Linked DNA regions of Homo sapiens: all the other regions are linked to region 2. The links are contacts of gene promoters, found by promoter capture Hi-C in blood cells and fetal thymus (Javierre and others, 2016). All regions are on one chromosome and are shown on one strand. Each heading gives the region's core, a stretch centred on a gene start or on the middle of the fragment in contact. The rest is flanking DNA. Distances are from core to core; before and after follow the strand shown. Region 1 holds the start of LOC105373950 (a long non-coding RNA gene). Region 2 holds the start of ASB18 (ankyrin repeat and SOCS box containing 18). Region 3 has its middle 33 kb from the start of COPS8. Region 4 overlaps COPS8-DT (COPS8 divergent transcript). Region 5 overlaps COPS8-DT (COPS8 divergent transcript).

What was found. Contacts are between HindIII fragments. The CHiCAGO score rates a contact against its expected background, and 5 or more counts as called.
Region 1: a fragment that was not itself captured here is called in contact with the fragment with the promoter of ASB18 in region 2 in 1 of 17 cell types (naive B cells); the score reaches 5.4 in naive B cells.
Region 3: a contact is called between a fragment that was not itself captured here and the fragment with the promoter of ASB18 in region 2, in 1 of 17 cell types (neutrophils). The highest score is 6.6, in neutrophils.
Region 4: a contact is called between a fragment that was not itself captured here and the fragment with the promoter of ASB18 in region 2, in 1 of 17 cell types (endothelial precursors). The highest score is 5.9, in endothelial precursors.
Region 5: a contact is called between a fragment that was not itself captured here and the fragment with the promoter of ASB18 in region 2, in 1 of 17 cell types (total B cells). The highest score is 5.9, in total B cells.

What each region holds. Positions count from the first base shown.
Region 1 is chr2:237,031,694-237,037,407 of GRCh38, reverse strand. The region is part of intron 1 of COPS8-DT (COPS8 divergent transcript); the gene reads left to right. It overlaps LOC105373950 (a long non-coding RNA gene), which reads right to left and starts at 734. Exons shown (of 3, transcript XR_007088140.1): 1 at 1-734. The HindIII fragment of the contact is 1,403 bases long and covers 619-2,021 here.
Region 2 is chr2:236,263,099-236,268,770 of GRCh38, reverse strand. ASB18 (ankyrin repeat and SOCS box containing 18) reads left to right here and starts at 4,365. Exons shown (of 6, transcript NM_212556.4): 1 at 4,365-4,630. The coding sequence starts at 4,426. The HindIII fragment of the contact is 4,209 bases long and covers 3,656-5,672 here.
Region 3 is chr2:237,115,881-237,121,301 of GRCh38, reverse strand. No RefSeq gene overlaps it. Among named protein-coding and RNA genes, the nearest start is that of COPS8, 33 kb to the right of the region's middle. The HindIII fragment of the contact is 1,895 bases long and covers 699-2,593 here.
Region 4 is chr2:237,071,479-237,076,836 of GRCh38, reverse strand. The region is part of intron 1 of COPS8-DT (COPS8 divergent transcript); the gene reads left to right. Among named protein-coding and RNA genes, the nearest start is that of COPS8-DT, 12 kb to the left of the region's middle. RefSeq lists an enhancer at 638-1,207. The HindIII fragment of the contact is 542 bases long and covers 1,631-2,172 here.
Region 5 is chr2:236,984,495-236,990,295 of GRCh38, reverse strand. All of the region lies in intron 1 of COPS8-DT (COPS8 divergent transcript), which reads left to right. Among named protein-coding and RNA genes, the nearest start is that of COPS8-DT, 98 kb to the left of the region's middle. The HindIII fragment of the contact is 3,289 bases long and covers 1,669-4,957 here.

The DNA.
Region 1 (5,714 bases), core at 71-2,570, 770 kb before region 2:
CCAGCAGGGGACACCACCACTATTGTGGAATCATTCTAGGACCTGGCACAGGATGTAGGGTTTTGTTTTGTTTTGTTTTTTGTTTTTGAGACAGAGTCTTACCCTGTCACCCAGGCCGGAATGCAGTGGCATGGTCTCGGCTCACTGCAACCTCCGCCTCCTGGGTTCAAGCAATTCTCCTGCCTTAGCCTCCCAAGTAGCTGGGATTACAGGCATGCACCACCACGTCCGGCTAATTTTTGTATTTTTAGTAGAGATGGGGTTTCACCATGTTGGTCAGGCTGGTCTCGAACCCCTTACCTCAGGTGATCCGCCCACCTCGGCTTCCCAAAGTGCTGGGACTACAGATGTGAGCCACTGCACTTGGCCAGGATGTAGGTTTTGATAAGTGCTATACTGTGAAATCGTTTAACATATTGGATTTGGAAGAGAAATGATTCATGCAGTAAAATGGATCTAAAATATCTTTTATAAGAAAAAAGCTAAGGAATGCAAAGTCTGCTTCACTGTTTCCTGGAGGGGACTGGTATTTAGCATTTTGTTGTAAATTAATGATTCTGTTAAGATAAATGTTCACACTGGATGTCACATTTCCAATCATAGTTAGTGACAGAAGCTTTTGTGTAAAAAGTACCTTCCATAGGGTGGAGGAAAAAAGACATAATGATGTTAAATAAAATTGAAAAAAGAAAAAAATGAATATTCTAAGGAAACAATGAGAAAAAATAATGAAGAAAAAATGAATATTCTAAGGAAACAATGAGAAAAAACAATGAGAAAAAAAATAAGGGATAAAAAGGCTTGTACGGAGGATACAATACAGTTACATAAGTAAACCTTACCCAAGTATCTTAAAGGCCATGGTCTCAGAATCTCATTACTCCACAAAGGGCATTACTAAAAAATTATTGTCAGAAATATCTTAGCAAACCAGTGCAGTTAGAGAAAAAACCAACTTACTGTATACTGAACACATCCAAACTGTAAATGAGCCATTACTTAGAGTTTGGATTGAACTCAAGTTCATTAGGCTTAAATGACCTTGGCAAACTTATAAAAATTACCATCAACTTTGAACAATTATTAGATGCCTAATTGCACAAGGCAGTGGATTCCTGATTTAAATAGGTCCAATTAGGAAACATGCGAAGAGGAGCCGCTCATGTGGAAAGTGAGACCCTCCCGAGGGTGGAGTCCCTGACACTTTGCAGAAAGAGCTGTGGGGGCAGCAGGGCAGGGCGGAGGTATCAGGAAAAGTTGAGAACAAGCTCGGAGGGCCGGCTGGGAAGCCGACTGTGGGTCTCTCTGGAGTCTGTCTCCCTTTGCTTATGCTAAATTATTTTGGAATTCTGGGCTTTCCTCTCTTTATGTTTTGTTTATTTATTTAAAAGAACAAAGGAAAAACAGAGCTAGAGATGTCAAGCAGAAGTCCATTCTTTCTCAGGGTGACAAATTGCCTTCACTTTCCTCCTTTCCTAGCAACATAACCCCATGACTGTTTCTTTTTGATTTCCTTAGGAAAACAATCTTTCACTTTTTATATTTCAGGGTTTTTTTTCAAGACAGGGTCTTGCTCTGTCGTCCAGGCTGGAGTGTAGTGGCGCCATCTCGGCTCACTGCAGCCTCCGCTTCCCGGGTACAAGTGATTCCCGTGCCTCAGCCTCCTGAGTGGCTGGGATTACAGACATGTGCCACCACGCCCAGCTAATTTTTGTATTTTTAGTAGAGTTGGGGTTTCACCAGGTGTCCCAGGCTGGTCTCAAACTCCTAGCCTCAAGTGATCCACCTGTCTTAGCCTCCCAAAGTATTGGGATTACAGGCGTGAGCCACCATGCCCGTCCGGAAACAATCTTTAGCTTGCTAGAATTTAATTCTGTTTTAGACCCCATATGAAGCCCCTCTTGTGATCATCCTAATGTTCTCATTATGTATTTCTCATTAAACAGGTATATCCTATGCTTTGGCTTGAATGTTTTTCCCCTCCCAAACTTATATTTGAAAATATTAATTGAAAACAAGCTTGTAGATCAGGCTGATCCTCTCAACCATCCTTTAGCATTGGGAGTACTGACGATATCATTCCCATTTCCTCCACCCCCAGCACAGCAGACATAATGGCAGTGATCAAATGCTTGCTCAGGGCCACTGGGGTAGTGTACTAGGGTGAGGACTTGGGTGGGGCCAGGTCCCTGGATTCTACCACCTGTGCTGCTTCTCCTCTGACCCACCCCATCTTCTCCAGGACACCAAGGGATTTGTGTTGCTGCTTTAATTGCTTAAAAAAAAAAAAAAAAAAAAAACCTGGATGGCTGCAACATGTATAGGTCCCCATTAGTTCATTCTTAAAACAAAAATAGGCTCTAGAATTAATTGCAATATAGTTGGCCTTTTAATCCCTCACAAAATAAATGCATTTTGACTCAAATAAAGCAATTTATTTATGCATCAGTGAAAATGTAGATGAGGGCAGTGGATTTCAAACTTCTTTAGCAGCCCAACTTTTGTACACACCTAAATACATGGATAAAGGCATAAACAAATTAGATAGACTGATGAAAATGGCCTGTATTGAGAAAAGGGGAGGGGCTGGGTCCATACTTCTACCTATCTGTTTGGTTCTCCACTGTCACACCCTGGTGGAGAAGCCACTGCCTCACTCTAGTTGAGTTTTCCCACCAGGGTTATATAAGGCTGAAACCAAGCTCGACAGAGTTGCAGCAATGCACAAATGGTGAAATGGTGAGGTCTGTATCTGTAACACACACACATGCACATAGACACACGCACACGTCTTGATATTTATGGGTCTTGAATATCAAAGGTTGCGATGAATTTAGCAATGCTCTTAAATGAGTTGATATAAAATGTCAGTGCCGATTCCTTCTTTCAGATGTGTTCGATCTTGTCATACTTGTATAGAGATAGCCAAAATTAGGCACTAAAATCACTTCCATGTGTTTTCCCTCTTCCTGCCTGTGTTTGGAATTCCCACATACGTCATCTCTGTGCCTTCTAGAACTAAGACCCCCATGAAGAGTACTTGACTGTCCACCCATTTGAGGGCAGCTTTATTCAGAGGCCAACATAGAGAGTTAGAGGACAGATAAAGCAGTCCCTCAGAGTGATTACAATGCCTGCAGAAGTCGTTTTTCCCACAACCCTTGTGCTTTAATTAAAAGTGAGCAGCAAAGTTGCCAGTGCAGCATTAGGAACATAGTATGAAGTGAATGCAGAGAGTGAACTTATTGTAGTGTTGCTGGATTTTTAGAACAGGGGAAGCTAAACATGAAGTGAGTTTCATATCAGGGAAGAAACTTGACCAAAGAAAATTCCTAGTTAATTGCTTGCTATTTGCACTGTCTCTTAATGTCTTGCAACTGAGCTTTTGTTTCATATGTCTTTGTAAACTTCTGATGATAAATATCTCCATTAGAATATATTGTATTCTCCTAAAGACTCCAAATTATGGAGAAGCTGTTCTAAATTTTATAGAGCACACAGATCCCTTTGAGGTTAGCTATTTGAGAGCCTTCTGCATGATAATAGGTGCAGTTTGATTGAAAAATACCTACTGTCAAAAGCATATGTGAGGTCATAACTTGTTGATCTCAAAGTCCTGTGAGGACACATTTACATGACAGTCAAGCCTTGGTGCACAAGACTGTTAGTTAGTATGCAGGAGGCACTTGGCGCCTACAATGACTGCGAGACTCCTTGAAGAAGGATGGGGCTTGGAGTGTCCCCCAGGGCTCTGCTGCCCACAAATCAGGAACCATTGCTCCAGGAAACAGAAATTCTAGAATGTCTGGTTTCAGAGTTAATTTTCCATTAAGAGAGAGAATTTAATCTTCTGATGTTACCATACCCGTTTATTCATCATGATAACAATATGACCAAAGAAGTAAATATTGCTGCAAATCTCTTCTACTAGAGTGATGTGATACAGTTAAAATATGTTACCATTAAAAATGGCAATTACACAGTAAGCAGGCCAGATAGGAAGCTTGGGAAAGCTGATGCATTTTAAGCTTATAGCAGTTTACTAAGAACAAAAAGTTCACATAATTATTCTAAAAGTGGACATAATTTTGTTTCTTGCTTTGAACTTCCATAGGAGCCGTAGCTAGGATGTTGACTCAGGGTTCTATGAAGTGTTTTGGAGAAAAGTTAACAAAGTAGGAACAGGGTGCCTGTATCTGATGATCTGAATCAATTTTGGTACAGAGCTTAAAAAAGAGGGGAAATAGGCAACCAAAACCTCCACTGGGCTTTGTCAGGAGCGTCATCAGCCATGTATGGTTGGCATCCACAGAGAGAAACTCAATACAGGCACCCCAGGGGCCAACTGAGAGGGGCTCCTCCTGCTTTAGATGTGCAGCTGGGGAGGACGCTTTGTGTTCATTCATTCCATTCATTCAGCAGTCATTTGGGGTTACAGCAGTGAACACATCCAAGTTCCTGCCCTCGTGCCACCTAAGTTCTAGTGATGTGTGGGGGGGATGCGGATATACAGCAAGCAAATAAACAAGTTAGTGTAGATTCCACATCATGCTGTGTGTAGACTTCACATGGCATCATGTGTAGACCCCACATGGTGGTGTGTGTAGACCCCACATGGTGTTGTGTGTATACCCCATATAGTGTTGTGTGTGGACTCCACATGGTATTGTGTGTAGACTATATATGGTGTTCTGTGTAGACCCCACACAGTGTTGTGTGTATACCCCATATAGTGTTGTGTGTAGACTCCACATGGTGTTGTGTGTAGACTCCACATGGTGTTGTGTGTAGACTCCACCTGGTGTTGTGTGTAGACCCCACATGGTGTTGTGTGTATACCCCATATAGTGTTGTGTGTAGACTCCACCTGGTGTTGTGTGTATAACTGACACAGTGTTGTGTGTGGACCCCTCAAGGTGTTGTATGTAGTGTGTGCACTCCACATGGCATTGGTGCATGGAGAAAGGAAGCAGAGCAAGGAGAAGGTGACTTGGCACAGGCTGGTCCTAGGCACCTCCTGAGAAGGTGGCATTTGAGGAGAGACCTGTGTTGAGTAAAGGAGTAAGCCATGCAGCTCTGCAAGGGAGGGGAGTTTCAGGAAGGGGCTGCGCCATGTGCAAAGGCCCTGAGCTGGGAGCTCGGGGGCCCACAGGATGGAGCAGAGTGAGGGGAGTGGAGGGAGGTGAGTTAGAACGTGGGGTCAGAGGGGTCTCTGGGCCATGGTAACAAGCTTTCTGAGTGACATGGGGAGCCAGGAGAAGCTTTTAAATAGGAAACGATCTGACCTTTGTTTCAATAACACCACTTGGGCTGGAGGGGTGCACATGCTGTGTCCATGGCACTCACACAGCGAGACTTTCACTCTGTCTGGGAGGGAATTCAGACCATCCCTTTACAGAGTCATAGACATACCTCCAGCAACTCCTGCATCTCCTTTTCCCAGCCCAGAATCCATCCACGGGACTGCTGCCCTGGGGCCAGGACATGGAACAAGAGCCACCTCCCCTGCTGGCGGTGTGTGTGTGAGGGGGCCCTGCCAGCGAATTAAACCCAGGCTCAGCCTCTGGCTTTTGACTCCCTCCCTCCTTCCTCTTTCCCCATACCATGAGAAAATACAGCATAGGGGTTAAGAGAATGAGCCCAGGAGCCACGCTGCTCGAGTTTAAATTCCAACTCCACGAACGCTAGCCTGGCAAGTTACTTCATCTCTCACT
Region 2 (5,672 bases), core at 3,116-5,615:
ATCACATCTAGTCTGTGCCCACATCCCATTGCATTGTTTCCAGCCTCTGAAGACACACAGGAAATGAAAGTGGCTCCTGCTCTCTCGTTGCACAAAGAGCCGCCTCAAGTTCAAGTACCAAGATTGCACTACAAAGTGGCTACTGCAGCCTGGTGGATTGATGGGTGAGCCTGGCCCCGCACAGAATGGAAAATACATTCACACAAACATCTCAGTCAAAACTGTCAAGACAGAAAAGCTAGAAAAGACTCATTGAAAAGGAATTCAATTTGGACATGGTGGCTCACAACTGTAACCCCAGCACTTTGGGAGGCTGAAGCGTGAGGATTGCTTGGGCCCAGGAGTTTGAAACCAGCCTGGGCAACATAGTGAGACCCTCTCTCTGCTAAAAAGAATTTAAAAATTAGCCTGGCATGGTGGCACACACCTGTAGTCCCAGCTACTTGGGAGGCTGAGGTGGGAGGATTAGAATGAGCCCGGGACGTAGAGGCTGCAGTGAGCAGTGATTGTACCACTGCACTCCAGCATGGGCAACAGAGTGAGATTCTGTCAAAAAAAAAAAAAAAAAAAAAAAAGCATTAATCTTTAGCAAAATTAAAAAGCTTCTGACCACAAGAAGAAACGTCTATGTCGCCGGAGCTGGGAATTAGGAGAAATAAAAATAAGACAGAGGGAATCAAAGACAGGAGAGAGGATGATGCGAGATGATGGAAGCCTCTGTCCTGGGAGCAAAGCCCCAGCTGACCCAGAGTGGGGAGGGCCCAGCAGCTGGATCTGGAGGCGAGTATGCACCCAACAGCACCCAGGGGACCAGGGGATGAAGGAGCTGCTTTCCACGCTATCAGGGAAAAGCAGGGACATTTCAGGCCCAAAGAAGAAATGAGTCTCAGAGGTGAATCCACAGACAGGGCTATGTCTCGGTCAGTTTGAGTGAGTCTAGACAGGCACAGTGCTTGTCCCTTTCTCTGAGGTCACAGGGGGGTCTGTGGACTTGCGACTGTTCATTTCTTCCAGACCATGGCCCTCCCTTGGCAACGGACTTAGTGCTGGGACTAAATTAGACCCCGGTTTTATCAACTGATTTATTAGGCTTTGTTATTTTGCTGCAAATTTGTTCAAAACCAAAAGTATTGATGGAGGAGAAAATCACAAGCCTGGCAGTCCTGACCTCTTTGGATGCAGAGCTGCATGACATTAAAAATTCCAGACAATATTTATGCTTCTCTACAAGATATGTGTTATTAGCCCTCATCTAAACACATTTGTAAACACAACTTGATGTAAGTTACATACATCACTGAAAATACATGAATTATGGCACCCTCCAATGATTATTTAAAAATTAAAATAGAACAATAAAGCGACCTTTATCTGATGCAGAGAAAGCTAGGATCCGTCTGTCACTGATTGCTTAAATATATTCTACACCTTTCAAGGACAATCGCTGAAGGAGAAAGTCAAACGAATGATTTCCTAGAAGTTAAAAGGGGAAATATTTGTGCTGGGTTCCTTTCTCCTCAAATGATGGTTTAGGCTGTGGGGGGCTGGGTTGGGGAGGGGGTGACATTAGATAATCACAGAAAGAAAGATAAAGAAATAGAGACTAGAAGATTTCATGCTGAAATAAAGAAATTCATGTTGCCTTAAATATAATTTGTGTTAGTTACATTTCAATTCCTAATTTTTACATAGCAGGGTTGATAAAGAATTGCATTATAACGAAATTAGCCGGAATAATTAGCATAGTGTATGTGCCACTGATTAAACACCCAGCAGATAGCTTGGTAATTAAGATCCATGAGTGCCGTATTTTGAGGCTTTGTCATCTTATTATCTGCCTAACAAGTGCTTCATCTTTACCTCCCTTCTGATTTGAAGTTTGATAGCAGTCTCTAATAATTCTCATTTTGTTTCTTTAAATTGCCTTACCCCAGTGCTGATCATTTTCCTGTGGTCACTACCCCTCATGTCATTGTATCTACACAAATGTACTAGTGCTAGATTTCTCCCTACATGTAAGATATTTGATGCTGCAAAGTATTTGTGCTTGGAAATTTAAGCTCAAAAATCTCCAAAACCCCCAGTTCTTTGGTCAAAGAAAGAAGCAGAGACCAATTATACTCTGCAGTTCGGTCAAGCCTCTGAACAGCAGGCAGATCCTCAGAGTTCGTATTTCCCTTCTGGGAGGAGTCCATTGCCAGAGATTCCAAGGATGTCTCTATCAGGGTCCATTTGTCAGGGTCTGTGACACTAAAAGGTAGTCACTCCAGTGGCGCTGGCTACTATTCATTCATGAGCCCAAACTATGGTGCCATTGCTCCTCCACTTGGGGAGTCTGGAGTTGGCTGTTGTCATTGCAAAATCCACTGGGGTTTTATCATAGAAGGCAGGTCGTTACTATTATCAAAGAATAGAAGGCTTGGGAGGATCAACTCAAGTTCTTCACTGGCTGAGCCATTCCCCCTGCACCTCCTTAGACTAAAACCAGGACATTTCCATGATTGAAAGGCAGAGTAAATACACTACCTGTATCAACCAAGAATGCCTTCAGTTGTATGTAACAGAAAACACACAGAAAGTGCTTATGGCATAAAGACAAGAGGTCTGGTGGCTGGGGCCCCAGAGCTGGGGCAGGGGTTCAGAAATGTCATCCCCAGTCTCTCCCCCGCTTTCCATCCCACTCTCCTTTCTGTGTTAATCCTTCATTTCATATCTGTTGCCTCCCAGCTGTGATGTGGCTGCTGCACCTCCAGATATCATGTCCATGTTCAAGGAAACAAGAACAGGAAAGGGTGTTGCCAGTCACTTCTGTCCCTCTTGATCAGGAAAGCACATAACTTCCCAGACTCACCCCAGCAGCCAGAACTGGGTTGCAAGGGAGACTGGACATTGAGTGCAGGCAAAGGAGACTGGGACTGACACTACTGACCTAAATCAACATGACTCATCCCCAGGGGCTGGGCACAGTGCCCCCACCAAGAAAGCCAGGCTGTGTTGGGCAGGTGGAAGGAGAATGGATGTTGGGCAGGAACTACAGTGCCTGGCACCTCAAGTGCAGATGGAACAGAAGCTGGAAAATCACACAAATGAGCTGAAAGGAGGAAGAGGGTGTATTAGTCAGTGTTCTCCAGAGGAACAGAACCAACAGTTATGTAGGGAGAGAGAGAGAATTTCTCTTCAAGAATTGGCTCATACTATTGTGCAGACTTGGTAAATCCATCATCAGCAGGGTGGGCTGATAGGCTGGAGACCCAGGGAAGACCTGAGGTTGAGACCAAAGGCTGTCTGCCGCCAGAATTCCTTCTTGCTCAGGGAAAGTCAGTCTTTTGTTCTATTCAGACGTTCAACTGATTGATGGAGGCCCACACACATTAGGGAGAGCCATCGGCTTCACTCCAAGTCTGCCGGTTCAAGAAATTCTAATCTGATCCCAAAAACACCTTCATAGAAACATCTAGACTAGTGTTGGGCCAAGTCTCTGGGCACTGGGGTCCTAGCCAAATTGAGACATAAAATTAAGCACAGGGGAGAAGAAAGAAAGTAAGGAATGGAAAAGATGGCGAGATAGAAGGCAAGGCGAAGGAGGCCCTGTAAGCTCCACGGCCCGCCCTGGGCCCTCAGAGACCACAGCACACTTGGCATCAGCAGAGAAGCTTCAGGCACAGCTGTGCTTATGCACAGGTTGGCACACAGAGACCCAAGCACACTGAAGACACAGGTCAAGGAGAGAAAGCCCCACCTTTGCCCCTAGGAGTGCACAGAAATCCCCCTGAGGGCTCCACACTTCCACAAGTCATGGAATTATAGGCTTTGAGCAAAGTTTACCAGCCTTGAGGCATAGGGAGGTCACAGGTAATATTTAGGTTACTTTTTTTTGTTTTTCTGTGATGCTTCCGTCTTCCTGAGATCAGCCAGTCCTTCTCTGCATTTGGAAACCAAAGATTCCATTCCATTCTATGCGTTTGAGGCATGTCCAATTTGCAGGTGACCAGACGCTCCTTTTAGAGGAAGTGAAGGAACACAAGGGGTAGAATATTAGAAAATGTTCCTTTCCACAGAATAGAGGTCCAAGCCCAGTGCCAGGAAGAGGTTTTCAAAGTTTCAGGAGAGAGCCTCACTTTTGATAAAAGAAGATATTATTCAACAATACCCATGAAAGCTGTCTTTGAAAATATTGTCTCTCCTTCTTGCACCACTCACAAACATGTCTGCTGCCCCCATCTCTAGAATAATCCTTTGCTGAGGCCTCTGGAAAGATTACTTCACACCTCCCTGCTGGCAGGTGGCCCTCCGCAGGGACTGTAAGAGGAGCCAGGGTGCTGCTATTTATAGCAGCCCCCACGCCACTCTCACGGACAGCTGCTGACTTTGGAGTCGCTTTAGAGGAAGAAAAGAAGGGCTGGTCACTGCAGAAACGACGTAACAATGTCCAACTCGGATTACCTTCCCGACTACCCACTCAACTCAGATTTAGTGAAGAGATTAAAGTCTGCCCTGGATGCCAAAGATGAGGAGAGAGTGAGGGATTTAATCTGCACTGAAATCACGCCTGTGGACGCTGTGATAGAACTGGCCAATGACGACTGGATGAAAGACCCCTCGGCTCAGCTGCCCACCGGCATGCTGCTAGGTAACCAGAACGAGCCTGCTGCATCTGGGATTTAATTACTAAGTTACACTGATGGGGTGGGCAGATCCTGGAGGTAGAGGGGCAAATGTTTGGAAAAAGTAAATGATATGTACTCGGATATCTGACTCTCATACATACATGCATATATGTGTACTGCATAGACCATGTACATGCGTGTGCGACATAAGCAACAAGTGCAACACAACACAAAAAAACTAATCCTACCACAGTGGCTGCTCTGTGGCTCCATTGTTTTCCAAGCCTGTCCATTTGCGTGTGTAAATTTCACCCACTGATAACCATATCATACACATAATTGTGTGTTCTGCTCCCTTGAGATCTACAAAATCTAAATCTAAAGCATTTTCCATGTTGCTACATAGTCTTCCCAATTTCAATCCCCTACTGAAATACTTAAACCAAATGCCTACAAAAAGATAGTATTTGGTTACCTTTTTGCTTCTATAAATAATGCTGTAACGAACATCTTTATTAGGATTCATACGGCTTTTTTCTTTTTTGGGATTATATCCTTACCATAAATTCCTAGGAGCCATATAACTGGAACAAGAACATAACATTTTTTCAAATTGTATTGTTTCTAAATTGGTTCCAAATTGTTTTCCGCAAGGGTTTCTGTTCCCTCTGACAGTGAGGTGATGTGTTTCACCACAACCTCACCAAGGAGCATCACTGGTAATGAATGTTTGTATTAAATTGCCATTTGATAAGCACACACTGGTAATTCTTCACTGCCTGTCGCCCATCCTTTCTTTGCAGGTCTGGACAAAGTCTTGTCCATAGGATTTTTTCTTTGTAGGCCTCATCAGGTGCAAGACCTGTCTATTTGGGTCTTGGGCAGGAACTCTCCATCTCTTGGAATCATTTTTATCATTTTGTAGGACTTCTTCACGTAACATAGACATCATCCCTTTGTTAGGTTTCCTGAAAGTGTTTTCCTGACCTGTGATTTACTTTTAGTTGTATTGTGCTGTTTCCCAGCTTGTCAGATTAGGGGACAAGGTTAGTCTTGGCCTCTAAG
Region 3 (5,421 bases), core at 397-2,896, 860 kb before region 2:
AAATGTTATTTTAATTTTTTAAGTAGCACAGTAATGATTATTCCTGTTCCCAAAATGTTTTGTCACATCCTAGATTACTTCTTTAGAAAGATGACTAAGAGAAAAATTACTGGGCCCAGTGAATGGGATTCTTGAGGCATTTAATATGCTCCTTTCATCTGAACGTTTGACACTAAGGATTTCAAGATGTCTCTGTTTTCTTTCTGAAACTTCATGTCTAAGTGATCATTATTATCCATGGCCTCAGGCTCAAGGAAGCTCTCTGATTTCTTTCCTCTGTGTCAGTCGGTGAGAGAACTAAGACCACTAAGGTCACTGGCTTTGCCTTGATGCATCCACCATGCCACTGCGGGAACCTAGGCAAGCAAACACCTCACTTCCGCCATTTACAAAATGGAGACACCCAGCCCCATAGTTTTGCGAGGATGAAGTCACATATATTGAGAACACAGCAGTGTACTAAACTAAAATAAAGAACTTAATTCAAGCAATACATACACAGGCAAAAAATCACCAGCTCTCCGAGTTGGAGTCTCTCTTCCCCTTCTGATGACGAAAGGACTAATGACCACAACCTACTGGTGCACCTGGCATATCCACACCTGACTCCCAGCAGCTGCTGTCAGGGTGGACGTGAAGGCCAAAGGCTGGGGCTGAGCAATTTAGCATGTGGTTCTTTGAGAAATCTCACAAAAGCTTCTTTTATCACTTGAGGACACATCACCATCATCACCATCAGAGATGACCATTAGTTTTCATTAATGGCATTAATATATTAATATATTTCCCCACTTGCTTTACAAAAAATATGGAAGGTAGTTACCAAAAAACATTCAGGAGAAAGAGAATTAAGTACAAGAGCTGGGTGTGTGGGCAGTAAGTAGAGGGAAAGGGGAGCTGGCAAGTTGAACAAGAAGGAAAATGAATGCCACGTGCCTGTGAACAGCTGCTGGGCTCTGTATTCAGTTTGAGCTCTCTACAAGCCAAGGCAAAATGATGGAAGTAACCAATTGTAAGATACACAGTATCCACAAGGCCCTCTCTTGACACCCATATCAGAGAGCAATTTCTCACTTAAAACATTACTTGGTGATACAGGGCACAGCCCTTTCCATATTTCAGTAGAATACACGAGTCGTTTTCTCTGCCTCCTTCTCATACTGTCGCCCCAGAGGCACAGGCCCCAAGCAAGTGCACAGTGAGGGCTGAAATGGAGAGACTGTAAATCCTCAGAGCTGCTGCCCCAAGCATCAGGGTGCTCAAGAATCACTGGGGTCTTGTTAAATGCAGATTTGATTCAGTGTGTCTGGACTGGGGCTTCCAGGCGATGCCCAACTTGTGGTCCAGGAAGCACACTTTGAGAATATTTTTCACAACTGAACCTTTCATAAAACCTGGATACAGAGTGTTTGGGGTTAATTTTCTGATGAGAGCTGGGTGCTCTCACATTCTATGCGGCAGTCAAAGGCAGGGCCACATGGTTTGAATGTGCAGGGCCAACCTAACGGTCTCTGATGATATTAACAGGCTGGACCAGGGCTGGAGCTTGCAGCTAAAGCCACTGCACTTCTCCAAGCAGAGGGGCCATGGCACTGCTCACCCCCTAGCCATTCCCTTATGCCAACACTGCAGGTGACCGGCTTTTATTCTTAGTCGATGTCCAGGATAATTTTGTTAGGTTTTGTATATTTTAATTTTTGCTTAAATTTAGCATACATGTGGATTTGATCATTTAAACTGGTGAGTGACAAGTGTGTGACAAGCCCCTAAAATAACGCCTTGGCTGGGTCTTTTAAATAATTTTTGTTCTCTTCATCCTCACAAAATAACTAATGGGTACTGCGCTTAATACCTGGGTGATGAAATAATCTGTATAAGAAACCCACATGACACAAGCCTACCTATGTAACAAACCTGTACATGTACCCCTCAACTTAAAATAAACGTTAAAAATTGTTCTTAATTATTAGGAATTCAGCCTCTAATTCCCCATAGATTTTCTTCCTTGCCAAGTCTTAGTAAACTTATCCATTCCACTCATATGACAAAAGAACTGACGACTCAAGGGCCAAACAAACTATTTAAAAAGCAAGAACATGAAGAAAACCTTTTTTTCAAAAATATCTAATAACTCAAGAGCACTTCTTCGGCCCTTAGAAAAGACTTATTTAAGCCTTTGAAGGGACTGCGTTTCAGCCAGCAGTGATGGTGATCGGACATTCAAGGAATGAAGTGGTAGGAATGACCCTACACACCAAGTGAGTTATGGCAGCACATTGTAAACAACAAGACACCGGGTGACAGCGAGGAGTGAGAATCAAGCAGATGTTTGGCTCTGGCTAAGCACATGCTTTACACATCTCAACTCAAGAGGGTTTTCAAACACAGCATCAACCCCATGTGTTTGGTTTTCCTTGTCAGAGCCCTTCTGCTATCTTGAGGAAGGGATGGGTGGAAATACAGAAAAGCTGCCCTGCACAGATTCCTGCATCTACATCCACAGCTCCAGTCACATGAAAGACACCAGACGCAGCATCAAAACATTTAGCCAAGATAATGTTGACAATGTAAGATAATGTTGAAAACTAAAGCTTCCTAATCTTTTGAAGTTGGTCCATATTAAATTGCCTCAGGCAAAGTTAAGGCAGTTGAGGCCACACTCCCATATTTCCATTTACATTCTTTGTATTTTATGACAGAAATACATTGAAAATCTTGTTCACCAGTCTGCTAAAAATCAGGGTTATAAGGGGAGACATCCAACAGGCTTAAGGCTCCCAAATGGATTTGGAATTTTTTGGACCTTACTCGATTGACCTCATTCACTGCCCAACCTCACAAACAACCTAATTCAGTTTTCAAACCATGTTATTTAACCGACACAGGATAGCCATGAAGAGGTTCTTATTACCTTATGCATTATTATGCACTGGGCATTTTGCCCTTTGTCCTGAATTGCTCTTCTTAGAGATCAGGTGCAGGTGCACAATTAGGAGAACATTATTCAATCAAAACTGTTTTTGGCAATTCCTCCCATCATGTGACTCACAAGTTAAAAATGGTCCAGTTCCTCTTTCATTTAGAATGAAATCTTTTCCTGCAGCTCCACCCAGGAGAAAAAATCATGATTCACATTCAGGATGCACATATGCTGGTCAGGTGGGTGCACACAACATGCTCATTCAAGTCCACTCATTTCTTAAAAAGATGTCCAAAGACTCCTGGCTTCCCACTATCTCAATTGACCCAGGAGAATGTCATCAATCATTTACATGAATAAAATGTCCACCCTGGTTTTAGCTTGTCTTTAGATATTTGGATAAAACTACACAATCTTTTCCACTAATTTTGAAAGCTTCCTTTACTTAGAGAAGCAACAAATTCAGAGGAAAGTTACTACTTTGCTCAACCACAAATATGATGCAGATTACTCAAAAGTTATTGACTCTAGCAAAACGGCAAACCCTTACCTTTCTCCAACTGCAGTGATAGCAAGGGTTCTCAGGTGAGAGGAAATCCAGGCATGGCATTTGTTAACAAGGAGGTACTTACTCCAGTTCATGGGCTGCTCAGCTAAGAGGCAATAGATGCCTTTCTTCCCCCTGCTTTTCAATGCAGAGTTTAATTGTGGGTTGTAAAAATCCCCCAGACACACTAAAAGCTAGAAGACTCCTGGAAAACTGCTAATCTCTCCAGGAGGTGTATTTGCCCTTGCTGCTATCATTTGGATGGATGGGGGCAGTGGGGATGGATGCTATCAGGTGGAATTCTGTTCTTCCTGCTTTTGCTATAAAAGGTGGAGACAGGTTAAGGGGAGGGGAGTCCTGGTAACTGTCCTAACATAACCAGTGCCTGAACATTCCTTCAAAACAGCCTTGATCAGTGGTTATTGAACTTGGCTTCAACGGTATCTGACTGATGGGATCCTCACACTATCTGAGACCATCTAGACCATCACCAACTGATACGCACAAGTTGTGTGGCTACTGAGCACTTGGAATGTGGAAGTCCAAATTGGGCTGTGCCACAAATGTAAAATACACATGGGATTTCAAAGATGTAGTATAAAGAAAAGAATGTAAAATATCTCATTAATATTTTTGTATTGATGACATGTTGAACTAATAATATTTTTGATTGGCTAAATAAGATTGTTGTTAAAATTAATTTTATCTGTTTTTCTTTTTCACCTTTTTACTGTGGCATCCAGAAAATTTAAAGTTACATATGTGAGGTGTGTCTTCTAACTCTATTAGACAGTGCTGGTCTAGGCAGTTAAATAGCTCTTCTTTGTGTTGAGTCAAAACTGGTCTTTCTAACCTTCTTGATTTTGCCTTCTGAAGCAATAAACAAAATTATTCCACATGGTGGTCAGTCCAATATCTGAAGACAATCATCATCCCCACCCATCTTTTCTTCTCATGCTGAATAGCCTTTCCTTTTGCAAACATTCCTTCTATGACATGTGTTAAAAATTATTTATCCAAAACTTGGAAAATGTCAAAATGATTGTTGTTATCTTTCTGAACAATTTCTTTAATAAGCCCAGTTGACCTTCATTGAGCTCTCTCAGGGAGTGTAACTTTGATTTTACAGGGCTGTAAAACATCTGGTTCCTTATCAGTTACGGATAGTTGCTCTGAGTTTAACTTGCAGAAAGTAGAGAGTGAGAAATGTTCTTATAACCTGAGATGAAAGGCAAAAATTCTGCAAATGGATTTCTGGGAATTATGTGAGGACATTAAACTGAGCTTCTTCTCATGCCCCTGCATCTAGCTGTTGGGGACCTAACTCCATATTGGTTGTGGCTCAGTTTAGTGCATATTCCATCTCTTGGAAGAAAGCATGCCAACCCGTCATGCTAGTACAATTGCTGAGCCTTGAATAGGCCATTCCACCATTCTATTAAGCTAGATACTTCTGTGTAAGGAAAACTTAAAACCAATGAAACGGTCATGCACCCATTGTCACATCTCCCTGTTCATAAAATGGGTCTCTTGGACTGACGTGATGCTCTGTAGGATTTATTGTTAATAGATGAGACTTTTGTATGTTCTTAGAAGGTGGTGCTGGAGAAGGCACTCACAGTGCATGTAAGGCAAACCCATACTTGGAGTAGGTGCCAATTCCAGTAAGGATGTGACGCTGTTCTTCCCATGGTAGAAGGGGCCAATATAACCAACTACTGGTATCTTCAGTGCTGCCAAGTGGTATCTAGTTTCCTTCTGGAACAGTCATAGTTGACGGCTTCACATCACTCTGCACTGACTCCAGGTCCACAGAGGAAGAAGCAAGATCAGCCTTGGTGATGGAGAACTCACGCTGCCTGGCCCATGTGTAAACCCCATTCCTGCTACTATTATGACTCTATTTATGGACACATTGTGCCAACACAGGGATGAGTGAAGACAGCCTGGCCCA
Region 4 (5,358 bases), core at 652-3,151, 810 kb before region 2:
CTATCTCAGCTCACTGCAACCTCCACCTCCCTGGTTCAAGTGATTCTCGTGGCTCAGCCTCCCAAGTAGCTGGGATTATAGGCATGCACCACCATGCCTGGCTAATTTTTTGTATTTTTAGTAGAGACAGGGTTTCACGATGTTGCCCAGGCTGATCTGTAACTCCTGAGCTCAGGCAATCCGCCCACCTCAGCCTCCTAAAGTGATGAAAATATTTTAAACTTCTATTGTGGTGATGTTTGTACAATTGGAAGCTTTCAGTGGGTGAATTTTTGTAAGACAATTGGAGGGAATATTTAGTAGAGCCCAGCAAAGACTGCTTGGCTGGGACTCTGATCTTTCACTGAAGGGCCAGCCAGGCAGTGAGGGAGTGAGGAATCAATACTCAGAGGACCTTCCTACCATCTCTCCCTCTGACCTCCTGCGGGGGATCCCCATTGGCTGAGCCCAGCCGGAAGCCGAGGGCAGGAAGTCTGCAGCAGTTGCTTATACGGCTGGCCTTCTGAGGCATAATGGGGAGGAGAGCATGGAGAGTGGATGGGAGGGACAAATGGAAGACACTCAGCGCACCTAGTCTGGTGACTGTGTGGTTGGGGCCCCAGTGATGGTAGAGTGGCCTCTGTGCTGCAGGGCATGTGTCACCAAGCCCCGGAAGCCCCAGGCAGGAAGGTCACCTACAGAAGAGAGGAATGTGACATTAGCCCCTGCCAAACCCACAAGAAGAAAAGTAAACACAGATCATTTGCAGCCATGAAGTGTATCAGGTTTAGAGTCCAGCCAGGCAGGCAGGCAAGAGGTGGAGAGTTCATGGATATCAGTGAGAAAGATTTCCAGATGGTTCACCTGGCTGGAGGCCGCAGGACCTGAGGCTAGAAGATGGGCCCCAGGCGATGACGATGGCTCTGCCAAAAAGGGTCTGTGTCAGAGTTGCTGGAAAGCAGCTGCAGAAATAGGCCAGCCCTGAGCCAGCCCTCCTTGTGGCCAGGAGTCCTGGGCTTTCTGCTTAGGGTGGAAACCAACCCTGCCCCACAGCATGAGTGGCTGCCTCTTGGAGCAGGGGTCACTGGGGTGAGAACAGATAGGGAAAGAATGGGATGCATTTATTATTATTATTATTCCTGAGGCATTGAACATTCAGCAGACTAGAGGAGATTACTAATTCTGATGAGTTGTCCTCTGGAGGAACTGGAGTTTGGGGGATGCTGCCATTGGACCATTGCCATTGGACATTGATGTCCATGACCAGCGAATTTTCCAATGGATCTCTTGGCAATGTCATCCCCAGTGGCAGTAGATGCTACCCGTTTGGAAAGCCAGGTAACAATACACAATGAGGGCAATGAAACAGACTTAGCCTTGGACTTAGTGTTCTGGCTCTGGGAAGTTATCCTGAGGAAGTTATTAAAAAGAGGAAATAAGCTACAGCTAAAAATGGGACAGCAGCATAAAGTACAATAGCTATTAAATTCATAAATATGAAGTCTATGTAAAAGTAGTGTTTCTGAAATAACTTTGAAAAAACATGAAAAATAATATTGTGTATACCTCTTGGTTATTATATATCATAACCCAGACTAGATTTTTGGGGAAATGTTGAAAGGAAACATGCAAATGAACATTACGATAAGCTTAAAGAGCTAGATTATGGGTGAAAAGTATCTCCTTACAATATTATAAAATCAATGAAGATTTTGTTCTTCTAATCTTAGACAACTTTAACATTTCAAACTTTAAAAATAGGGCACTTTTCTTTCTTTTTTTTCTCCTCCTTTTTACTAATGCTTGTGTTGGCAAGTGAATAATAAAAGAGAACATTTTTGCAAAACTTCAGAAGGGCCCTGGAGCTAAGGGCAGATACATGTTAGGGGAAATTTGGAGGAATAAAGAAAAGCTGTGAAAAATGATGGCAGTGGTAGAGGCAAAGGCAAAGGGGTTATAAATAAAGCATGGAGGAAGAGCACAGGCAGGCAGCGACCTGAGAGCAGAGCGATGGTGCTTCTAGAGCAGGGTGGCTTCCAGGCACATGACATCATTGAAGGCCGCTCTCACACTCATTAGCTGTTTCCTGAGTCAGGACATATGTCGTGGCTAACGGCGTGAGTGGAAATATAGAACAGGTCATTATGCTTTTGATTTCTAGTTTTATTTTAATTCTGTGATCTCAATGAAGCTTGCTGTATTATGAGGACTGCACATAGCAGGCGTTGCATAAATGTTTGTTGAATGAATGCTAAGTGTGCTCACTTTTCTTTACTTTATTCCCTGAGCACAGGATCTCACCTTGCTTTTACCTTCCTTGTTTTCCATCCACTCTTGCTCTTTTCCTTTTGCCTTCTATGACTCAAGCAGTGGGATCCTGTATGATTCTGTTCTCACACTGCTATAAATACCTGAGACTGGGTGGTTTATTTTAAAAAAGAGGTTTAATTGGCTCACAGTTCCACAGGCTGTAGAGGAAGCATGATTCTGGCATCAGCTTGGCTTCTGGGGAAGCCTTAGGAAACTTACAATCATGGCAGAAGGCAAAGGGGGAACAGGTGTCTCTCATGGTGGGAGCAGGAGCAAGAGAGAGTGAAGAGATGCCACACACTTTTAAACACCCAGATCTCAGGAGAACTCACTCACTATCGCGAGAACACCACCAAGGCAATGGTGCTAAACCATTCATGAGAAATCCACCCCTGTGATCCAACCACCTCCCACCAGGCCCCACTTCCAACACTGGGGATTACAATCAGACATGAGATTTGGCGGGACAGATCCAAAGCATATCAGCTGGGCAGATGCTTTCAGCTCCCATGGCAATTCTGACAAAGAGGACAAAAGCATGTCCAGATGCTGCTCTCCCCTCATAACTTGCTCTCCTGGATCTCAGTTCAGGGGCCGGGCCAGGAGAGCCAGGGACAGGACAGCCATGTTGACCTCCAAGGAGTCCCCTTCTCTCTTTATAGTTGCCCTCCCCAGTATCATCTGTCTGCCTGAGACATCTGTTTTCTGTCCTGCAATACTTCCTACTTGTTTATGCTGATTACTTCTATCTTCCACATTCTTCCATGCCCACAGAATCACTCAGAACCCTATCCATTCCCACTGGGTTCAGGCTCTAGTACTCTTATCTCGTTCTCTCGGATTTTCTCCTGTTGTGTTAGGTCATTTCCTCCACGCCCAGCCTTTTTGCATAGTTTTCTTGTGTGCAGGCAGCTCTCTTCTAGTCAATCACAGCTGACTTTCCCGTGGAGCCTGGGCATGGCTTCAGAGTCCTCCCAACAAATAACTTCAGCCTGCTTCTACCAAAAGATCAGAGTGGGCGTGCAAGAAGAAACTTGTCGGCATTTCTGTGCTAAAATGAAGGCTGCTACCAAATTATTTGCCCCAGATTTCTTGTGGTTGCCACGTCCCGTGTGCTTGATCAGGGGCCCTAATCCTGAGCATTGCCCGTCCCTCCCCTCTCCTGCCTTCTGCTTACTCAGAGCTCTCCAACTCCAAGTACACTTTGCACCCAAGCCCGTCTGTATCACAGTGACCCCCCAAGCCTAATCCAGTTCTTATACTAGCGACACACATTGATTTCAAAGCTTGGAGCATCTCAGCGTAGCCTTATGTCAGAGTCACCAAAGTCACCTTAGGTTATTGGGAGCCTCCCGCCAGTGGACTTTTCCCACAGTGCCTAGCCCAGCCACCTTGAAAACAGTATGTGATCAGTAAGCTTTCTCAAAGGGATGACTTATACTTTCTTAGAAAAACTAGGCTTTGGAGTTGCTTAATGGAAAGTCAATATTCAGTGAGAAAAGAAACATAACAATGTTGGGAATCAAAAAGAATTAATCATGTATTTTGAGGGAACCAAGCAGAGACGGTCATGTTTTTCCTAGGCAGTTAATAGCGATGCGTTTGAGAGCCCAGGCTTGAGAATCCTGGCACTGACCGCGTGACCTTGAGCAAGGCCATAGCCCCTCTCCGAGTCTATGCCTGCACCTGTAAAACTATGGTTAACAGACAGGCTGCATGGTAAGGCTGTCTTAAGCATTGCGTTAGATTATTCTTGGCTCAGGACGTGGGCAAATAAATGGTGATTTTTGTTAATTATAGGAATGCTAGGTTGGGATGTCCCACGACCTTATTCACACAGGGTTTTAAGACATGTCTTTTTTACCTTTGATAGTGGAAATCAAGCATTATACTTAACTTGAGGGAATGCAGTCTTGGGAAATAATTTCCAATGTTCTTCCCTCCCAAGTAGAGGTGAGAGGGTAAAGCCAGACATGGATGTCTGGAGATCTTCAGTGCAATCTCAGTCTTTCCCACCAGGGGGCGCTGTGGCACCATGCAGGATCCTTAATTTCCCACTGGCTGAGGGAAAGCGGACAGGCCTTGGGTTGGGCCTAACTTTTCCTCCTCTCTTTATTTTTTCTTTCCCCAAAAATTACTTTTTAAGTGGCAGTCCCTTTAAGTGTGCTTTCGGGGAGTCCCTTTCCAGGTGCTGTATGTTTGTCTAAGTCTTGACAGGCTTCCTCGCGCTGCATCCCCTTCTTGGCTCCATCCTGAATCAGGTTGTCCAATCCGAGTGGACCTCGTCCTTGTCCGTGAGGCTGGGAGAAAGGTCGTGATCAGCCCGAAGCATCCGTGGAAAAACTGGATGAAGTTCCCGGGAGAGTAGGAGGGGAAGGTATCAGGAAGGCTTTCCTCTGGGCACCGCTAGGTCTTTGCGCTAGGAAGGGCGTTCTGCAGGGAGCACAGTCCGGTCCCTACAGAAACGCCAGGCGCTTCTACTGCAGGTTCCCGGGGAAATAGACTTTTTGTTCATCATAACTTTACACAGCGTTCATGGCCTTCTCAAAGGGGTGTGTGAGCCCCAGGGGTACTGAGTCCCTGGCCTCTATAGAAAACTTCCATGGCCATAGGAGGGGCCGACAGGAACCAGCTTGAGGCTGTTGCATGTCCTGGGAGGTACCTGTCTGATAAGAGTTGAGGATGCTTTTTAAACTGGATTCGGCTGGATTTGAATGACCATTTATTAAGCTACCTCATTTGATTCATCTGCAATACTCATGACACCAAATGAAGAACCGAGGTTCAGAGAAGTCAGATAACTAACCCAAGGTCACACAAGTCTCAGGGATTTAAACTCAGGGCTCTCTGACTCCAAAGCCCATGTTCTCAGCAGCACTGCACAGATTGAGGAGGCCCCACAGCACCAATGAGTGTTCACCCCAGTTATGTCCAAACTCCTGGGGATCAGTGCCAGAGACAGCCTGGAAATGGCTTTATACCCAGTCACAGCAGAATATCTGAGGCCACACTGTGAATCCATGTTCTTCCTGATAACCCTTTCAATTTCAAATGGACTCCACACTGGGA
Region 5 (5,801 bases), core at 2,064-4,563, 720 kb before region 2:
GGATCTACCCTCTTGCCATTTCCCCATTGGCGCTGGTTAGGTCTTCTGGAATTAGAGTTCTTTTCTCAAAAAGGTGAAGCTGGCTATCAAGTCAGTACTAAAAAATCACTTTTCTGAGCCCCCACTTTCCTAATTCCATCAGCTGCAACAGGAATCCAGTCTTGGTGATTTGTTGTTGTTGTTGTTGTTGTTGAGACGGAGTCTCGCTCTGTCACCCAGGCTGGAGTGCAGTGGTGCGATCTCAGCTCACTGCAACTTCCGCCTCCAGGGTTCAAGCGATTCTCCTGCCTCAGCCTCCCGAGTAGCTGGGATTACAGATGTGTGTCACCACACCCAGCTAATTTTTGTATTTTTTTAGTAGAGATGGGGTTTCACCATGTTGGACAGGCTGGTCTCAAACTCCCGACCTCAGGTGATCCACCCACCTCGGCCTCCCAAAGTGCTGGGATTATAGGTGTGGGGCACCATGCCCGGCCTCAAAAAGGTGAAGGTGGTTATCAAGTCAGTACAAAGAATTCACTTTGCTGAGCCCACACTTTCCCCATTCCGTTAGCTGCAACAGGAATCTAGTTTTGGTGATTTCTTAAAGAAGCCACTTGAACCAAGGCACAGCATCCTAAAGTCGCATGGCCCCCACAGAGCTCACCACGTGCTTTCCACATCTACCCCAGGTTTCCAGAGGGAACGAGGGCTGGCACTTACTAAGAGTCACCTCCTTCTTGCCCTGGGGTTGGAGTGGGGTCACCTTAGGGGAAGAAGTCCTACTTCTCTGAAAACAGCGAAGGAACTAACACTTGGCTCACCCCGACTCAGCTGTGCAGGCTCTGTTGGAAGAGAAAACCCAGCATCCCTAATCCATCAGGGTCTGGAAGAAATCTCGCAAGAGAGAATGACTTGATTTTAAAATTCTGACTGCCTTTGTCATCCTCCTGCCAGGCCTGACCTTTTGCAGATATGCTTTTAATTAAGCAAGGGTTTTGCTTAGCCTCTTCCCACCTTCTTCAGTTTCCAGCGACTGTGCCAGATTGTTCAGTCAACTTCTTAAATTAACACGAGGGCTGCTGGTGCATTGGGGGCTTCGACAGGAGGCACCAGTGCCTGCCTTTCTGTGCTTGTCACAGCTGCTTCTCTGCAGACTGAGGTCCAGGGCGCTGGGGTGACAGACAGCACACAGCCACACCGGCCGGTCACAGGGAGGACCTTGCTGTGTGCTGCACATATTTGTGACCTGACCAATGACTGGCAGGCTGCATCCTGGACTGAACCTAGAAGACACGCCTCTGGGGTGAAGAGGGGTCAACAAAGCAGCTCGTGTTCCCTGCTCCAAAGGACGCAGCTGCAGAGTGTTTTGGTCATGGAGAATTGCTACCGTCCCCAACTCAGAACTTGGAACAGACTGTCTCGTCTCCAAAATACAAAATAAAAAAAAAAAGATCAACAGGAACCCAAAGAGAGGTGAGGAAAAGTGCAGTTGTGCAACAAGCCCGCTGTTCTTGCCATGAGGAAATGCTGAAGTCACTTAGAACTGATGACTGAAATGATTGTGGCAAGTGCTTTCTTGCCACACTGGGTAAGGGGGCATTTCCCTATTAAAGTCCCTTACCATTTTCTAAGGGGTGCAGTTTAAGGACGTCTTTCCGTAAAATACCCAATTGTACTAACTAAGCTTCCTTTTGGAGAGAACTGACCCTGCTTTTCTCCAAAGGTAAATATTGAATGTGACAGTGGGAGAAAATCATTCATTTCAAATTGTTATTGACACGCTCTGATAAACACTCGGCAAGCAAGAATCTGGTTTGAGATCCAGACACCCAAAGTCCTAGGCTGATCACTGTGTTCATCTCTAACATGTGTACCTGCAAACAGCAGTCTGTTACATGGGTTTCCTTGGAACTAGGAAGGCTGGCATCCTTCCAAAGGGCCACTGGCTCTAAGGTCCAGCTGCCCACTTGGTTCCAAAACCTTCTCTTGTGTCTAGAATGTTGGGAGATATCATGGCCTTCTTATGCCCATTGGCCAGCCCATTGGTTTAGAATGCACTTAACAAACAGAAATACAGACATGTTTGCTTCTAAGGTTTTAGGAATGAAATTCCCATTAGAGCTCACCTGAAATGGAGTGTTAAGTGCCTCCTTGCAGAAGGGTTGGTCCTACATTTGTCCTGTTGTGATGCATGCATTTGACACACAGCAAACGCCTAGGATCCTAGAATGTCACACCAGCAAGGCCCTAAGACATCACACTTCTTCTGATGACAAACCTACAGCCCAGGGTGTTATGTGACTGGCTCAAGGACTCACAACAAGTTGACCTCAAAGCTGCGCCCAGGCTCCTGGGCTGATAAGACCACACCCCCCATCCTGCCCTCCCAGGATCCTCCAGACCCTTTAATAGGAGGAGACGCTGACCTGGGCATTTGGAGAGACACAGTCTTCCTGGACTCGGGGTGGGAGGGGTAAGGGCAGTCACCGGGTCACTGACCCTCTTTACAGTCTCAGGAATTGTACCTGTTTAGGGTCCCTCAGTTTTGCAGCCAATGCCAAGGCAGGTGAGGAAAACAGTCCCTGCCTGCCGTGTGTTGCTGGGACACTTTGCCGCAGATGTCACCTTCGCTCTCCTTACTCACCTAATGCTGACAATGGCGCCCGTGGACCAGGCGTTCTTCCCACACCTCCTGAAATGCTCATTTATCAGTGTAAACTCCCTTTGAAGCACCTCAAGGAATTTCCCCCTTCAAGGGCGGATGAATGGCAGCCCGAGCAGCCTATTGTATACGGTATTGTCAGACTGAAATACAAAGAACTATCGCCCAATGAGTGGTATTAGACCTGCATGGGGTAGTGCCAATGGGAATTGGAATTCCAGCCCCTTATCTTCCAGAAGAATTCCTCAGACTCCATGGAAGGCCATCGTGCCACAAAGCAGTTCACTGCTGCTGCTTCCCTTGGAGGGCTGTGTCTCAGTGCAAGATGCAAAGAAGTCAAGTGGACGGGGAAGCATGTTGTCCAGCGTTGGTCACCTCACCTGCCCAGGTGGGTACTCTCTTCTGCAGCTGTCCCCATGGCTTCTCCACATGAGGGTGGACACCCAGGCAGTGTTCCAGTGTTCACAGAGGCCACTGGCTCAGGAACAGTGCCCCAATTCATCTCCACCAAGCAGGAAGGACAAAGATCTACTTGCATCCTAAAATAGCATACTTTCAGATATTAGGAGCACTTTTCTATGGGAAATACTGGAAATGGACTTTTGAACCTCTAGGAGAGGAAGAGAGAGAACAAGTCAGGCTGAGAAACGTGGTTCCCAGCAAGCAGCAGCCCGCCTGAACGCCCGCGCCTACACGTGGGGTGGGCTTCTGGTGGAAGACTGTGGGAACCAAGACTAAATAAATGCTAAGTGCCCTCAATGCTTCTAAAACACAAGGCTGGCAACAATACAAAATACAAGCTGAAAAGAAAAACAAACAGGTAGCCCTGCCAGCTGGGCATTGCCCCAGGTGTCTGAATAATTTTGTGATTGAATCAGGCACCTGGCTGTAGCACTGTAGTTTATTCCTCCTCAGCTAAAGTGACATACTTATGAGAATGTCGCCTTAGTGTCTGGGCTTCTTCAAAAACAAAGGTAAATAGAAGAGTCAAGAATGGAACAGGTCATGTGGGATTTGCTCAGGACTGTTTGCTTTTGCCCATGGAAACTACAGTGGCCTCAAGAAGCAGTTGAGTGTGTTGTACAACCCTCAGTTGCTTCGGTCTCAACAGGGAAAATACTGACCTGGGTAAGCACACCTTGGGTTTTTTTTTTTTTTTTTTTAACTGAATCAATTTCTTAGAAAAATGAAGTCTCCATAGCATTTGTTTTCCATTTTTAAGTTGTTGTAAGAGCAATGGAGTGAAATGGAGATGGAACTGCCTCCCAGTGCCTGCGATCTTCCCCCACCTGCATCCTTCATCTGTCTCCATATCATTCCCCCTTTATCACACTCTGACCCCCTCTCTGATCACAATCTTTAGTTATACTATCATTACTCACCTCCCAGACAGGCTCTGTAGATTTCAAATGTCAAAATCAAGGAATTCCCCACATGATCATTTAATCAGGAAAAGAGAGAAACGTAAATGACGTACAGCTCACATTTTCCACACCCTCTGCACCCTCTGTGGATGCTAGACTTCAGCCAAGTCCCCTTCCTAACCATGTGTGCTGCTTGTTGAACTATAAACTAAAAGGTTTGTTTCCAGGGTTATGTTACTGTTGGCTGATAGCATATCATTTCAAGGGGGTCCATTTTTCTCAGTGCGGCTCAAATCACTTTGGCAAGTTTAATCTTGTCTAACAGCTTTGCTATTTACTGCTGGAATTTCTGTATCTTAAGAGCACCCTGGGAATTTAGCTTAGTGGCTAAAAGATTGACTTATAGCTCCAAACCAGGTGGAAATCGGAATGCACTGAAAATATACACAAGGATATGTTGCAGAATTATCTCCGCTCTGAGAGCATTCCCATGGGCGCGGAATTAATTTCTGGTTTTTAAACTGTGCAAAAGTTACTGTATGAATCTAGAGATTTAGAGCATTCCTCAGGTTGAAAGTGGAGAGCTAGGCTGGGGAAGGAGTGGGGGCTGGGACACACACAGACCTGGAATCTGTGATTTACTAGTCCTGTGATCTTGGGTGTGTTCCTTGATCTCTTTGAGCTTTCTTCTCCTCATTTGCGCAAGGGGTTAATAAATCTCCCATGGAGAGTTGTCCTGGGGATCTAGTGAAGCAATGCTCTGGGGATACATATTTGTAAGTCTCTATCTCTATTTAGAGGACTCGCCATCCCCTCCTCTATCTAAATCACTCTTGACTTCTCTCCATTTACAAAATCTGTTTTAAATGTCAGAGAGCCTGAGACTTATGAGGACCATCAGAGTAATAGTGACCCAGTCTTTGTAGATGGGACCAATGTTGATCAAGCTTTTTCACAAATTTGTTTCATCCCACTCTTCCAAGCATCCTAGGAAGAGATCATTCTTACTTCTGTTATCTAGATGAAGAAGCCATGCTACATAATTGAAGATTAGCAAAGCAGGGACCTAATAATCATAAGATAACAACAATGGCAACGATGACAAGGATGATGATGATGATGACAGCTAACCTTCACTGAGGGCTTCCTTGTACCTGATATTCTATTAAGTGGCCCAGCGTAGAGTTACTCATTTAATACTCACAATACCTTATTTGATAGGACTATTATGATCCCTATTTTATGGATGAGATTATCATGTTTCAGAGATATCCAAGGTCACCAAACAAGTGAGAAGCAGAACAGGATTCAAATCCCATCTTTTTACTCCATCCCCATATCAAACCATGGTCTAATTATCTTTCTACTGTCTCAAGTGATAGATGACATTAGAGAAGAAAGGTTACCTTTGTAGAAAATAAAATCATTAGCAAGATTTTTAAAGGAAGAAACAGTAAGATCACTCAGCAAATACTTTGGGTGTCTATTAAGATTAGGTGCTGGATTGGGCATTGGGAAGCCCTTGAAATCACCCAGGTGAGAGATGGCAGTAGCCAGGTGTATCAGATACTTTCAGTTGTTCCTCTTCTATTTCCCGCTTTCAGCTACTTGGTCTGTATCAGCCACTGCCCTAACCAACTTTCCATGGAGTACAATGAATCACACAGGCACAACAAAAATTTCATCCAGAATATATACAGAATCCATACAAAATAAAGACAAAATAATCAGATTTCAAAATGGGCAAAATATTTGAAAAGTCATTAAGCAAAAGAGGAAATCCAAATGTCCAA